Regions from separate parts of the Homo sapiens genome. Here region 2 is linked to region 1. Evidence: promoter capture Hi-C in 16 types of primary human blood cells and fetal thymus (Javierre and others, 2016). All regions are on one chromosome and are shown on one strand. The core of a region is centred on a gene start or on the middle of the fragment in contact, and the rest is flanking DNA. Distances in the headings are between cores, read along the strand shown. Region 1 holds the start of CEP70 (centrosomal protein 70). Region 2 has its middle 3.7 kb from the start of NMNAT3.

The links. Contacts are between HindIII fragments. The CHiCAGO score rates a contact against its expected background, and 5 or more counts as called.
Region 2: a contact is called between a fragment that was not itself captured here and the fragment with the promoter of CEP70 in region 1, in 1 of 17 cell types (naive CD4 T cells). The highest score is 6.2, in naive CD4 T cells.

Annotation. Positions count from the first base shown.
Region 1 is chr3:138,591,006-138,596,942 of GRCh38, forward strand. CEP70 (centrosomal protein 70) reads right to left here and starts at 3,255. Exons shown (of 18, transcript NM_024491.4): 1 at 3,193-3,255; 2 at 849-951. RefSeq lists an enhancer at 3,460-3,519. The HindIII fragment of the contact is 6,508 bases long and covers 2,865-5,937 here.
Region 2 is chr3:139,678,540-139,684,801 of GRCh38, forward strand. No RefSeq gene overlaps it. Among named protein-coding and RNA genes, the nearest start is that of NMNAT3, 3.7 kb to the left of the region's middle. The HindIII fragment of the contact is 776 bases long and covers 1,520-2,295 here.

The DNA of each region.
Region 1 (5,937 bases), core at 2,005-4,504:
CATTTTACGCTAAAAAGATTTTGTTAAATAACAAAAAATAGAAAAGTAAAGGAAATGCTAACCTAACCAAAATAAAGCTGGTACGGGTTGAACGTTCCTAATATGAATATTTGAAATCCAAAATGCTCCAAAATCCAAAACTTTTTGAGCACCAACTTGACACCACAAGTAGAAAATTCCACACCTGACCTTATGTGACAGGTCACAGTCACAACTTCATTTCATGCATAAAACTATTAAAAATGTATAAAATTAGCTTCAGGCTGTGTGTATAAGCTGTATATGAAACAATAAATGAATTTTGTGTTTAGAGTTACCCAACTCTAAACAAGATACCTCATGTATATACAAATATTCCAATTTTTTTTTTAATCTAAAAGTCCAAAACATAGTTCCAAGCATTGCAGGTAAGGGATACTCAACCTGCAGAGCTCTGTAGCCAGACTGCCTGGGTTCAAATCATGGATTCTGCCACACAGCCAGGAGAGTACAGTACTAATCTCTGTGTGCTTCAATTTCCTCATCATAAAATAAGGATAATAAAAGTACTCAGCTCACGAGTTAAAGATTAGAAGAGTTAATATAGAAAGAACATAAAGCATTGTCTGGCACACAGCAGGATGGAGACTGTGATTAGAGTTGGTGATCAGCTTTCTGTGTTATCTTAAGTAGGTATTTAACCTCTCTGAGCTTCAGCTTCTTTGCTGAGTTGTAAAATATCTACCTGATAGGATTATCAGGAAGTCAAAAGGAAATATATGTAATGAACCTAGTATAGTACTCAATAAATATTAGATTTTTTTCCATGGCCTCCCAACATCTGGAGTCATCCGTTACATTAGACATACCTCAGTCATAGCATATTACTCTTGCACTTTACACCTGGTCATTCAGGTTGATCTCAATGAAATGATCACCCAACGAGTCTCATGTCTGAAACTGGATCTTCATCTAGGTTTCAAAAAGATAAAAAGAACAAAATCTTGAAATGTTCAACCTCCTAGTAAGAATGGTCTTGTGTTACTCCCAGAGCAGGCATCCAAGGTACTGGTAATCACAGATAAAGCAGGCACAACTGAAATAACTGCTAATGGCCTTCCCAGCTCACCATCATATGCCTCTTCCCTTCTCTTCTCTCTCCTTCTTATCTTTCCTCTCCCTACCTTGTTAAGACATTTAGCTGGGTATCCAAATCTATCATCATCTATCATCAATTCTGACTTCTGGCTCCACAGGTAGGATATTCTCATTTGCAAGGATACTAAAATGAAGCATCCTCAGACAAACTACCACTGATCACAAAAGCAAACACAGGAACAAAACTACTCCTCATTTGCACCTGTGACCAAGCCCTCCTTTTCAGAGGACCATTCTGTGAAATAAACGGGCCAATAGTTTGCAGCAGCCTTTTCCCCACTACAGGCTGTGACAGGACAAAGGTCTGGAACTTTAAAGTCACAGGAAGAGACCAAATGCTTTCTAGGGCCAAAACAGAAGCTACAGCTTTAATTACTGTCATAACACACTTAAAATAAGATTGTTGGGGGTAGGAGTCGGGGGGTAGGAGTCGGAGGGTAGGAGTTGATTTGTACATGGCATAGTAAGCCAAGCATAGAAAAGCAAAAACATAATTGCATCTTCTGGCACTTTCTAGGTTTCCCGAGTCTTTCAGCCAAATTGCCCTTTATAGGTCTGAAGCCCCTTGTAACATGCTCCATATCTTAAAATTTAATTATTTTTTTCACCATTTGGGGTGGGGGAGGGGAGCTGACAATAAACCATGGCCAATAACTGTTCCTTCTCAACTGAATCACACCAAAATCTGTAAGCATCTTCAAAAGTATATACTTCAAATTACTGCAATAAATGAACATGTAACCCTTTCGAAGTCTCTATTCCTTATTAAATGCAAAAGCTCTATTCTAAAAATATTGCAACTTGCTGTTTAATGTTCCTAAGAAAGAGCTGAACTTACCCCAAATAGGAAAGAGTTAAAATGGAATGTCATCTCAACCAAATCATTCTGTCTCAGGAGAGGTGACATGAAGGGGCAGAACCTTGCTTTGAAGCAAAAGCTGTAGGGAAAACTCCAAGTCAGCCACCTCTTCCCCAAAAGGCGGGGCAGGGGAGGCCAGAGTCTACTTGGCAATATTTAAAGTACAAAACTCATGCAGAGGCTTGAAACCAATATGGGTAATGCCTGCACAGAGTTTAATATATTATACATATATTTTTGAGACAGAGTCTCGCTCCGTCACCCAGGCTGGAGTGCAGTGGCGCGATCTCGGCTCACAGCAACCTCCGCCTCCCGAGTTCAAGCGATTCTGCTGCCTCACCCGCCCGAGTAGCTGGGATTACAGGCGCACACCACCATGCCCAGCTAATTTTTGTATTTTTAGTAGAGACGTGGTTTCATCATGTTGGCCAGGGTGGTCTCGAACTCCTGACCTCAGGGGATCCGCCCACCTCGGCCTCCCAAAGTGCTGAGATTACAGGCGTAAGCCACTGCGCCCTGCCTGTTTAATATCATTGATTGAAAAACAAAGTGGCAGTAAAAAAGGAAACTCTGATTGGTCTCTCTGTTACAGGTGACTTAGCCTTCTGGCATTTTTCACCTTGAAAAACTCCTATTAGGCCCTGTATAAAGTCAGAGGTCTCCTGAATCCGGAATGAGGTTAATAAACTGGAGAAAGAGATACTCACCTGTGCTATTCGCCTAACCGCCCCCTTCTGCTCCGAGTCCTCACTCCCCAAACAACCTTCGCGGTTGTTTGACACAAAACTAGCGCTTCAGCCCGGGTCGATTTTGGGGGATGGAGTAATTACCTACAGCTTAAATCGAGTCTGTGCCCGACGTGATTCTAAGCTTTACTCTTACTGCCTCATTTAACCCTCACAACCACCTTGTAAGGCAAGAATTACCAGCTTTAGTATACAAATAAAGAATCGGAGGCGCTGAGACATTAAAGGAGAAGCCAAAGAACACAAAGCCTGGGGAGCTGGGACTGGAGGCAGTTTTGTCCGATCCCCAAACCCTTACGCAGGGATTTTTAATTGGCGCGACCCTGTCCCAGATGGCTCCTCCCCGACAAGGGTCAGTCTGACCACTTTTAGGCCCAGGTGAGGTCAAGTCCGGGGTACTCCGGGAAGGGGCTCACGCCGACGCCTCTGAGAGCCCCGAGAGCCACTCACCTTACTCAGTCGCCGGCCTCCCACCAGCAGCCAGCCGGGCCAGGTTAGGCTGGGATCAGCTACGTCAGGCCCCGCCTCCGCGACCGTTACCACCGCCGGGGGAGGGCGGCCAATCGAGCCCGAGCGCGTCGAGGGCCAGCCCCTCTTTGGCCTGCGAATGCCCCCAAACGATTCTCTCCAGCCTCTCCGGGAAGCTGGGTCCGCCCCGCTCCCTCCGGTTGGCTCACTACGGGGGGCGGGGCTTACCGCAAACGAAGGCGTCGGTGCGATGTGCTGGTCTCGGGCACGCTGGCGCTTCCAACGCACTCCTTGGGTGCCCTGTCACTTACATGGAGGCTTATTTGCCCGGAAGACGTCAGAAATACTTGTGGCCGTGGGTGAAAGTGAAGCCTGGGTTACCTGGCCACCAGAGACTGCCCTCTCTCTCGCCCCCTACCCCGCCGCGACTACGAGCCCTTGCTGGGGTACGGGTCAGCATGTTCTCGATGTTCCAGACCTGAATGACCACTGTAGCAGCTGACATTTGGAGGACCCCAATAAATATTTGTTGACGACAGTTCATCTTCCCATTCAGCATTTTCCACATCTCGACGAAGCGTCAGGCCCTACCTGAGGCTGTAGCTGTCCACCATTGTCATTGTATCTTATAGCCACATGGTGTCGCTGTTGACAACTTGTCTTTTCAAATCAGTCAAATGATGTAGGTCTGTGTTACAGTCAAATGTTGCAACAGACTGTGTTGCAGTCAAATGATGCAGGTCCCACAGTAGCCAACAGGGATGTCCCATCTAGGGCATCAGCCAAGGGTCTCTCATCAGGAGATCCAAGGGCTCTTGGAGCTCAATACTTTCAGACCCTTCTTAGCCTTCTTCCAGGCAGCTGGGACTACACTTAGGTTTGATCTCTGTGTTTGCCCCATGCAAACATGTCCCTACCCCAACCTACGCCTACCCACTGTGCTTTCCATACCTGGATATTCACTCTAACGACGGTTAGCAGATTGCATTTTCAGTTCTCAAAATGCAAATAGTCTCAGTGCTTCCCTTTTCCAAGATAATAGGGTGCCCTTGCATACTCTTCTGAGAATGGCTGCCCTAATTGTAGAGGCCAAACATCTTTGAGTCAGTTATTATTATTTTGGATGCACGTGATATAGAATCTGAGTTAAACTGTCTTCCTAAAAAATAAAGAAGTTGCTTATCTCGCATAACAGAAAGCTCAGAGGCAAGGGAGACTTTGATTAATTCAGTGGCTAAGCAAGTTAACAAGGACCCAGTTGCTATTAGTCTCTGCTTTGTTGTAAAAAAAAAAAAGGGTAGACTTCAAATTCATACTAACGTGATTTTCCAGATGTCTACTTGGAGAAATCAGGACCACATACTTTCTTTTTCATCTAAAACCTTTCCTTCTGGTTTTTTGAGCCAATAAGTTCACACAGGCACACACTCTTCCTCTTTACCAGTAACTGCCTGGGAAATGTACAGACAGCTTAAGCCTGGGTTCCAGAAGTGAAAAGGAGCTATGACAATTGGAATTGGCAATGGTGTCAGTGCTCTTTGAGTCACATGAGTTGCAAGGTGGAGACATGGCTATTTGAATAAAACTGGAGACCTGTAAAGGAGAAGAGGAAAATGGATGCTAGATGGATGATCACCAGTATCTTTCACAGTCTTCAAAGCACAAGAAGGCTGATTCCTCTCTATTTTCTAACTGAATTTTTTATGTGGTGAATGGAGGGGAAGAGTTGCTATAGCACTGCCCTCCAAAACAATTCCCTTCTTATGGACCATGAAAGCCTTTCCAGCACCTCTCTTTGCTAGAGAAGGAAAACATCCCTGCACACAAACTTAGTCTTTCACTGAGAATCCTGCTACATTGGTCTCAAGAGTTTTCTATGGGCCTCATCTACCCAATAGAATTCTAATAATTCTAAACATTCATTTAACATTCATTCATTTATAAAAATGTGTTGGCCGGGCACAGTGGCTCACGCCTGTAATCCCAGCACTTTGGGAGGCCAAGGTAGGTGGATCACCTGAGGTCAGGAGTTCGACAACAGCCTAGCCAACATGGGGAAACCCCATCTCTACTAAAAATACAAAATTGGCCGGGTGTGGTGGCACATGCCTGTAATCCCAGCTACTTAGGAGGCTGAGGCAGGAGAATCGCTTGAACCCGGGAGGCGGAGGTTGCGGTGAGCCGAGATCTCACCATTGCACTCTAGCCTGGGCAACAAGAGCAAAACTCCGTCTCAAAAAAAAAAAAATTTTTTTGTTAAGCACCTGTTTTGTACCAGGGATTGAACTAGATGCTGAGTCAGATTTATAAGTGGGGGAGTTTACAATAGTAAGTAAGCCCAGTTGTGATTCCTGCCTTCGTGGATCTTATAGTCTAACTGCGGAGAAAATATGAAACAAATGCAATTAAGTATATATTATTAATATAATAAGTGATATCAAAGAAGAGAAGAGGGGCTATGGAGGAAGCCTCTCTGATGAAGTGACACTTAAGTTGAAAGCCAAGCATGTCTTCATTTCGGCTTTCTGCTTTCCTCTGTACTTTGGCTTCCTAGCATAAATTATAACTTTCATTAGCAGTTAAAACACATCTTTTATTTCTCAACTTCTTTTTTTTTTTTTTGAGACGGGAGTCTCGCTCTTGCCCAGGCTATAGTGCAGTGGCGTGATCGTGGCTCACTGCAAGCTCCACCCCCCAGTTCACGCCATTCTCCTGCCTCAGCCTCCC
Region 2 (6,262 bases), core at 658-3,157, 1.1 Mb after region 1:
GAAGGATTTCTGGGGCCTGAAGCATACACAGTTGTGTGGGGAGAAGGAAGGGAGGGCTGCTTAAGAAAGAGAAGACAGAATTAGGGCTTGCCAGTGAACATTTATTTGGAATGAGAAAATAAATCTTAACAGAATCCTGGGGTCTTAGAGATTGGGGTCCCTATCCCCTAAAACCTTCTTAGGAAATTTAGGTCCCAAATTTGCTTCCCTAACGCAGTCTGGCTTCCTCTGCCCACCCAGAACTCTCCATAAGCCCCCAGGGCTCATGGGAGCCTTGCAGAGAGAGGCCTTGAAGGACAAGATTCACTAGATTCTGCCAATACAGTTTCCTAATGGAGTGAATTGGAGTGTGCGAAAAAGAGAGACATCAAGGATGATGTCAAGGTTTTTTGATTGCTGTACACTTAATTTCCAGCGTTTCCTAGACACAGGAACACAACCTCATCTTAGTATGGAGAGTGTTTTATAAGCCTGTCCACATCACCAGAGCCTCACGGTGCACCCATGAAGTTGGCTGGACGGGTGCACTGTCCACAGTTTTAGGAGGCCCATAAATTTGTCCCTTGTGTATTAGCACCGGGGGCATGCAACTTGCACCCAATAAGTACCCAGGTAAATGGTACTTCCCCACTCAGTCTGAAGACACAGTGTCCGTGCCCTCTCGGATCCCTTTTCTCTTACCTGTGGTGTAAAATGTGGCTCCAGAAGGTGATCTTGGACAAGTCTCTTTACTTCCCAAGCCTCACTTTCCTTTCGTATAATGGGAGGTAACAACCCCTACCGCACTGAGTTTTGGGGAGGATTAAGTGGCTTAACATCTTTGGATATTCTTTAATTGATAAGTCAGCTTATTTCCCAGCAGGGTGGGAGGCTCATGAGAAAGCTTAGGGATTTCTGAGAATCTTGTGTAGCATGTAGTACCACAGGTTGATTAGAGGCCTTCGATTAAAATCGTGGGCTGAAGAGTCATTCTGGGTCAGGGCCCTAGGCCAGGGAGGGAGAAGCTGCACACAGAGAGCAGAGAAGAGGCTGGGCAATGACTTCCTCATGCAAGGGAAGCTTTCTCTGCCTGAGGTAGTGAAGACTAAAGCTTGGTCTAGGAGGAAGCCTGGTTTCCTAGGCAAGAAAAAAGGAATGAATTAATGGCATTCACAGCAACTGGATGAGATTGGAGAGTGTTATTCTAAGTGAAGTAACTCGGGAATGGAAAACCAAACATGGTATATTCTCATAAGTGGGAGCTATGCTATGAGGATGCAAAGACATAAGAATGACACAGTGGACTTTGGGGACTCAGAGGGGAAGAATGGGAAGGGAGTGAGAGATAAAAGACTACAAATTGGGTTCAGTGTATACTGCTCGGGTGATGGGTATACCAAAATCTTACAAATCTCCTCTAAGGAACTTACTCATGTAACCAAATACCACCAGTTCCCTAATAACCTATGGAAATAAAAATATTTTTTTAAAAAAGTAGCGTCCCCTTGTGCTGGAAGGTAAGAACCTCATATAATAGCCAAGCTTTACCTAACCTAAGCGGTGAAGACGCAATGGCTGAGAAATCCATTTTGGAGAGGCAACTACCTCCTAATTTTTTAGAAGGAGGAATACCTAAATGCAAGTCTTGTATTTGCTTAAGCTCACAAAAAGACTACTGGATTATGGGTATAATGGGAATAATATTTTCAGATCTCTCCTTTATTGGTAAGTTTCATTTCTCCTGGATCCTATCTGCCATTATGGCTCAAGGAAGGTGGCCACCTAATGCCACCTCAGGAAGGAGGAAGATTTTACATAGAGGATGTCTCAGCTTGAGTGCCTCAGAACCAGATCCTGAGGTAAGAATTAATGCAAGTAGTTATTTGAGAGGTACATGGAACACCAGCAGAGTAATGAAGAAGCAATACAGGGAAGAAAAGGGGAGCTCAATAAAAGATTAAGCCAGCTACTATAATAGATGTTTAGGGCTTAATCCTAGGGGAAAACCCTAGAAAACTGTGTGAAGAGCATGCCTTGGAATCATCCCACCCAAGGCTGCAGGAGACAGGTCTCTACAGGGAAAAAAGCTGGAACTGACCACTTAGCTCATATTTTTGAACATTTAAAACATTATTTCTAGGCATAAAAATGTCATTACTAAAATGAGATCTGGCTACAGTATAACACTATTCTGCAGTTTCCTTCTATCACTTAACAGTGTGCTGATGAAGTTTCAGGAGGAACTCTTTGGGCAGTAAGCAATGTGCAGATGGCTGAGAGTCACAGTCCTGGGATGGACCTGAGGCCATTCTGGAAAGCTTGCTTGTGGATGGATTGTGATGAGGCCGTAGACTGGGGCAGCCTCTGTATTTGGATGAACCTATTCTAACCTTGACTTCTGACCTGTCGCTGAGGAAAAGCAAGCTTTGAGTGGGTAAAAGTAAAATGTAAAAGGGAGACTGGTGGACTTTTCAAATGACCAAAGAGGGCAAACTTTTCAGTCACTGCAACTACTTCAGCAGATGGGCATTTTCTTTTCTTTTCTTTGAGATGAAATTTCACTTTTGTAGCCCAGGCTGGAGGGCAGTGGCGTGCAACCTCCGCCTCCCAGGTTCAAGTGATTTTCCTGCCTCAGCTTCCCAAGTAGCTGGGATTACAAGCGCTCGCCACCACGCCCAGCTAATGTTTGTATTTTTAGAAGAGACAAGGTTTCACCATGTTGGCCAGGCTGGTCCTGACCTCAGGTGATCCACCCGCCTTGGCCTCCTAAAGTGCTGGGATTACAGGCATGAGCCACCGTGCCCGGCCAGGTGTTTTCTTACAAACAGTGAACAGATAGTGCTCATGCCAGATCTTTCTTATACAAGCATCAAAGCAGGTCCTCACTAGAAAACCTTCACTTTGTCAATTTGGCTTCATGGCTATACTTACTATTGAGCTAAAATTATCCTTTTAAAACGTGAATCAGTTTATAACACTCCTCTGCTCAAAAGTTTCCAGTGGCTTCCACCACAATTAGGGTAAAATCTCAAGTCCTCCCCCTGGTGTGCAAGGCCCTCAAGGATCTGCCCTGACAAGTGCTCCAGCTGTCAGCCATTCTCATCTCTGGTTTCCTTGACTCTGTTGCTGTTCCTTGGACACACTGGGCCTATTTGCACCTAGAACCATGGTGCTGCTGTCCTCATTGACCTAAATAACACACCGCCCACTCTTAGGATAACTTTCCCAATTCATTAGCTTTCTAGTAGACAGCTCCACTTAACAAACAAAAATACTCCCATACAACCCCTTTTGTAGTACTTACTACCTATCATTGGAGGATATTTTGCTCATTATCTGTCTCCCTCGCAGAAGTGTAGGGCCCAAGAGTGGCTGAATCTTTATACATTTTGTTCCCTGATATGTCCTCACACCCACAACAGTGCCTAGCACCTGATATTCAATAAATATCTGTTGAATGAATGAATGCATTGAATTGAGCAAATGAAAAATATATTCAGTACACATACAGATAAAAATATTCTAGAATGCAGACTTTCAACTAATCTTGGTTAGGTTCCTCTCAAACTGAAAAAAATTGTTAGAACACAGAAAAATAAAATGAAATGGCTGAGCTGTATTATGTAATCTGATTTATAATTACAGGTTGAGTATTAGACTGAGAACTTTTGCTTTTTTATATTTCACCCAATGTCTATGTTAAATGTTTAAGCAAAGGTTAGCTTGAGAGGCTACATACTCATTTAAAAGTAGTAAAAAGAAACAAGGTTCTCCTAGTCACTTTAATAATTCAGAATAGTATTCTGTGGCTTCTGTTGGCATTTGAGACCCCAAGATGGCAACTGGTTACCTGAAAATAAAGGCCTTGATCAAATATTTAACATCTCACTTATTTTCATTTTCTGCATATTTTGTATTCCTGATTCTCACTTTTTTTTTACCCATTCTGCAGTCACACAATTCACACACTGAAGTTAATAGAAATGTTCCATGGATTATTAAATGCAGCTAAGCAATGAGTTTTTGCTAGAAAATAAGGCCAAACTGGGGCCACTTTGCTATTCTAACAAAGTAATTTTTCCTTGAAGGTACAGACTATGAATTTACAGAAGCCTCTACCCTTTATTCTGAAGTTTTGTAAGGCAAATACATTGCTGCAGGAGAGAATTTAAAGTGGAAAACAGATTCCCCCTGAAAACATGTTTTATGGTGGCACAATTAAGAAGTCTTATAATCAAGAACAGTTGAAAGCACAGAATTATAAGTGGACCTTTATAATTATGGCAAGAAGACACTAAATAGTGCCTGTTTGCTAATGAAAACATTGCACTCTGGTGCCAAAAGCAGTGGAGTGGGTTTTGGTTGGTGCTTACCTGGGTTAATTGCCCAAGGAGTGCTCCAGTAGCAGCATCCCAGTGCTGTCAGCTGCCGTTCCTAATGGAGCTTTTATATTTTACCCCTATTGCTAAAACCCTAATCCAGGCTTTGATGTCCATTTGGGCCTACTTGGTACAAAGAGGGCCTTCTGGAGGTGGTCAAAGTCATAATGGAAAAGCCTTTAGGAATAACCCATCCTTTTGTGATCAGTAGAGAGTACCCAGAGAGGTTAGAGGATTTTCTCGAGATCACGCCTGACCAGTGGTGGGTTTGGAGTATTAGTCAGGACTTTTTTGTTAGAAGCAATTGAAACAGTCTCTGTGACCCAGTAGATGGGAGTTTATTGGCAGGATTGGGCCTTCAGAACTTACAGAAAGTTTGGAGATCCAGGCTTAGAAACGGATAGGGAGAAAGTAGCTCTGAAAAGCTAGAAAGTGAAAACCCTGGGAATAATCTCTTAGTAGAAATGGTCTGGTCAGGAAGCTGCTGCAGAGATAGATGATTAAACTCTAGACACTTTCTATGCCCTTGTTTCACTTGCACACTAGCCAAAGTCTTGGGAGAGGCCCTCAGATTGGCCAACATTAGTATACACTCTCCTATTTGTCCTGGGAAAGGTGTTGGCAAACTCCTTCAACTGCAGAAGTTGAAAGGAAAGCATCTGAATTTACTCTCCTACTAAGACTCTCATAGTGGAGAGGGGCAATTTCCCAAACGGAAACCCAAAGAATGCTGTTAGGAGGAAGGCAGGGATGCAGAGAAGCTAGAGTACAATGAAGCCCCAATTCAGTTTAGAGCGGTAGACTCCTGTGCAGCTAGAGATGGCCACAAGAAGCAAACAGGAGTCCACCTGGGATTAGTAGGAAGATTTTGCTTTGCAAGCTTTCTGTCCCTCTCCTCCTTTTTCCTTTTGGCTTAGAATGTGGGTATAAGCCCAGAGGCCAAGGAGCCATTATGAATCTTAGAAGTGAACTCCAAGCGTGAACTCCAAAGCCACCTACTAAAGATGGCTGAATGAATGAATAGGAGTCTGACATGTTAAATACACCGTGGAGCTGCTGTACCAGCTCTGAACTGCCTACTTCCAGCCTTCTTATTTTATAAGAAAATTAAAAAACCTATCTGGCCACACCACTGTAGTTATCAGTAACTTTCAGTCTAGCACAGTCTGATAATACAAATTAGTCCTAGGATTCTGGTCTCTCAATCTCCTATGCAGCACCATTCCTGTTCTGCTTACAAAGACATGGTTCCTGCCTTCAAGGAGCTTATGGTTGAATTGAGGTTATATTAGTCTGGGTTCTTCAGGGAAACAGAACCAATAGGATGGATAGATAGATAGATGATAGATAGATAGATAGATAGACGAGGACATTTATTAAGGGAATTAGCTCACATAATTATGGAGGCTAAGAAATCCCACATCTGCCATCTGCAAGCTGGAGAGCCAGGAAAGCCCATGGTGTAATTCAGTCTGAGTCCAAAGACCTGAAAACCAGGGCAGCTGATGGTGTAACTTCAGGTTTGAAGCTGAAGGCCTGAAAACTGGGGCAGGCAGGAGAGATGCTAGTGTAAGTTTCTAAAGGTCCAAGAATCAGAAACTCTGATGTCTGAGGGCAGGAGAAGATGGATGTCCCAGCTCAAGAAGAGAGATAATTTGCCCTTCCTCTGGATTTTTGGTCTGTTCCAGCCCTCAGTAGATTAGAGGATACTCACCCACATTCACGAGGGTGATTTCTTTACTCAGTCTACTGATTCAAATGATAGTCTTTTCCAGAAACACCCTCACATATGCACCCAGAAATAATGTTTTACCAGCTATCTGGGCATCCCTTAGCCCAGTCAAGTTGACACATAAAATTAATCATCATAGAGATTAAAATCATACTCAAGCAACAAGAGAGCA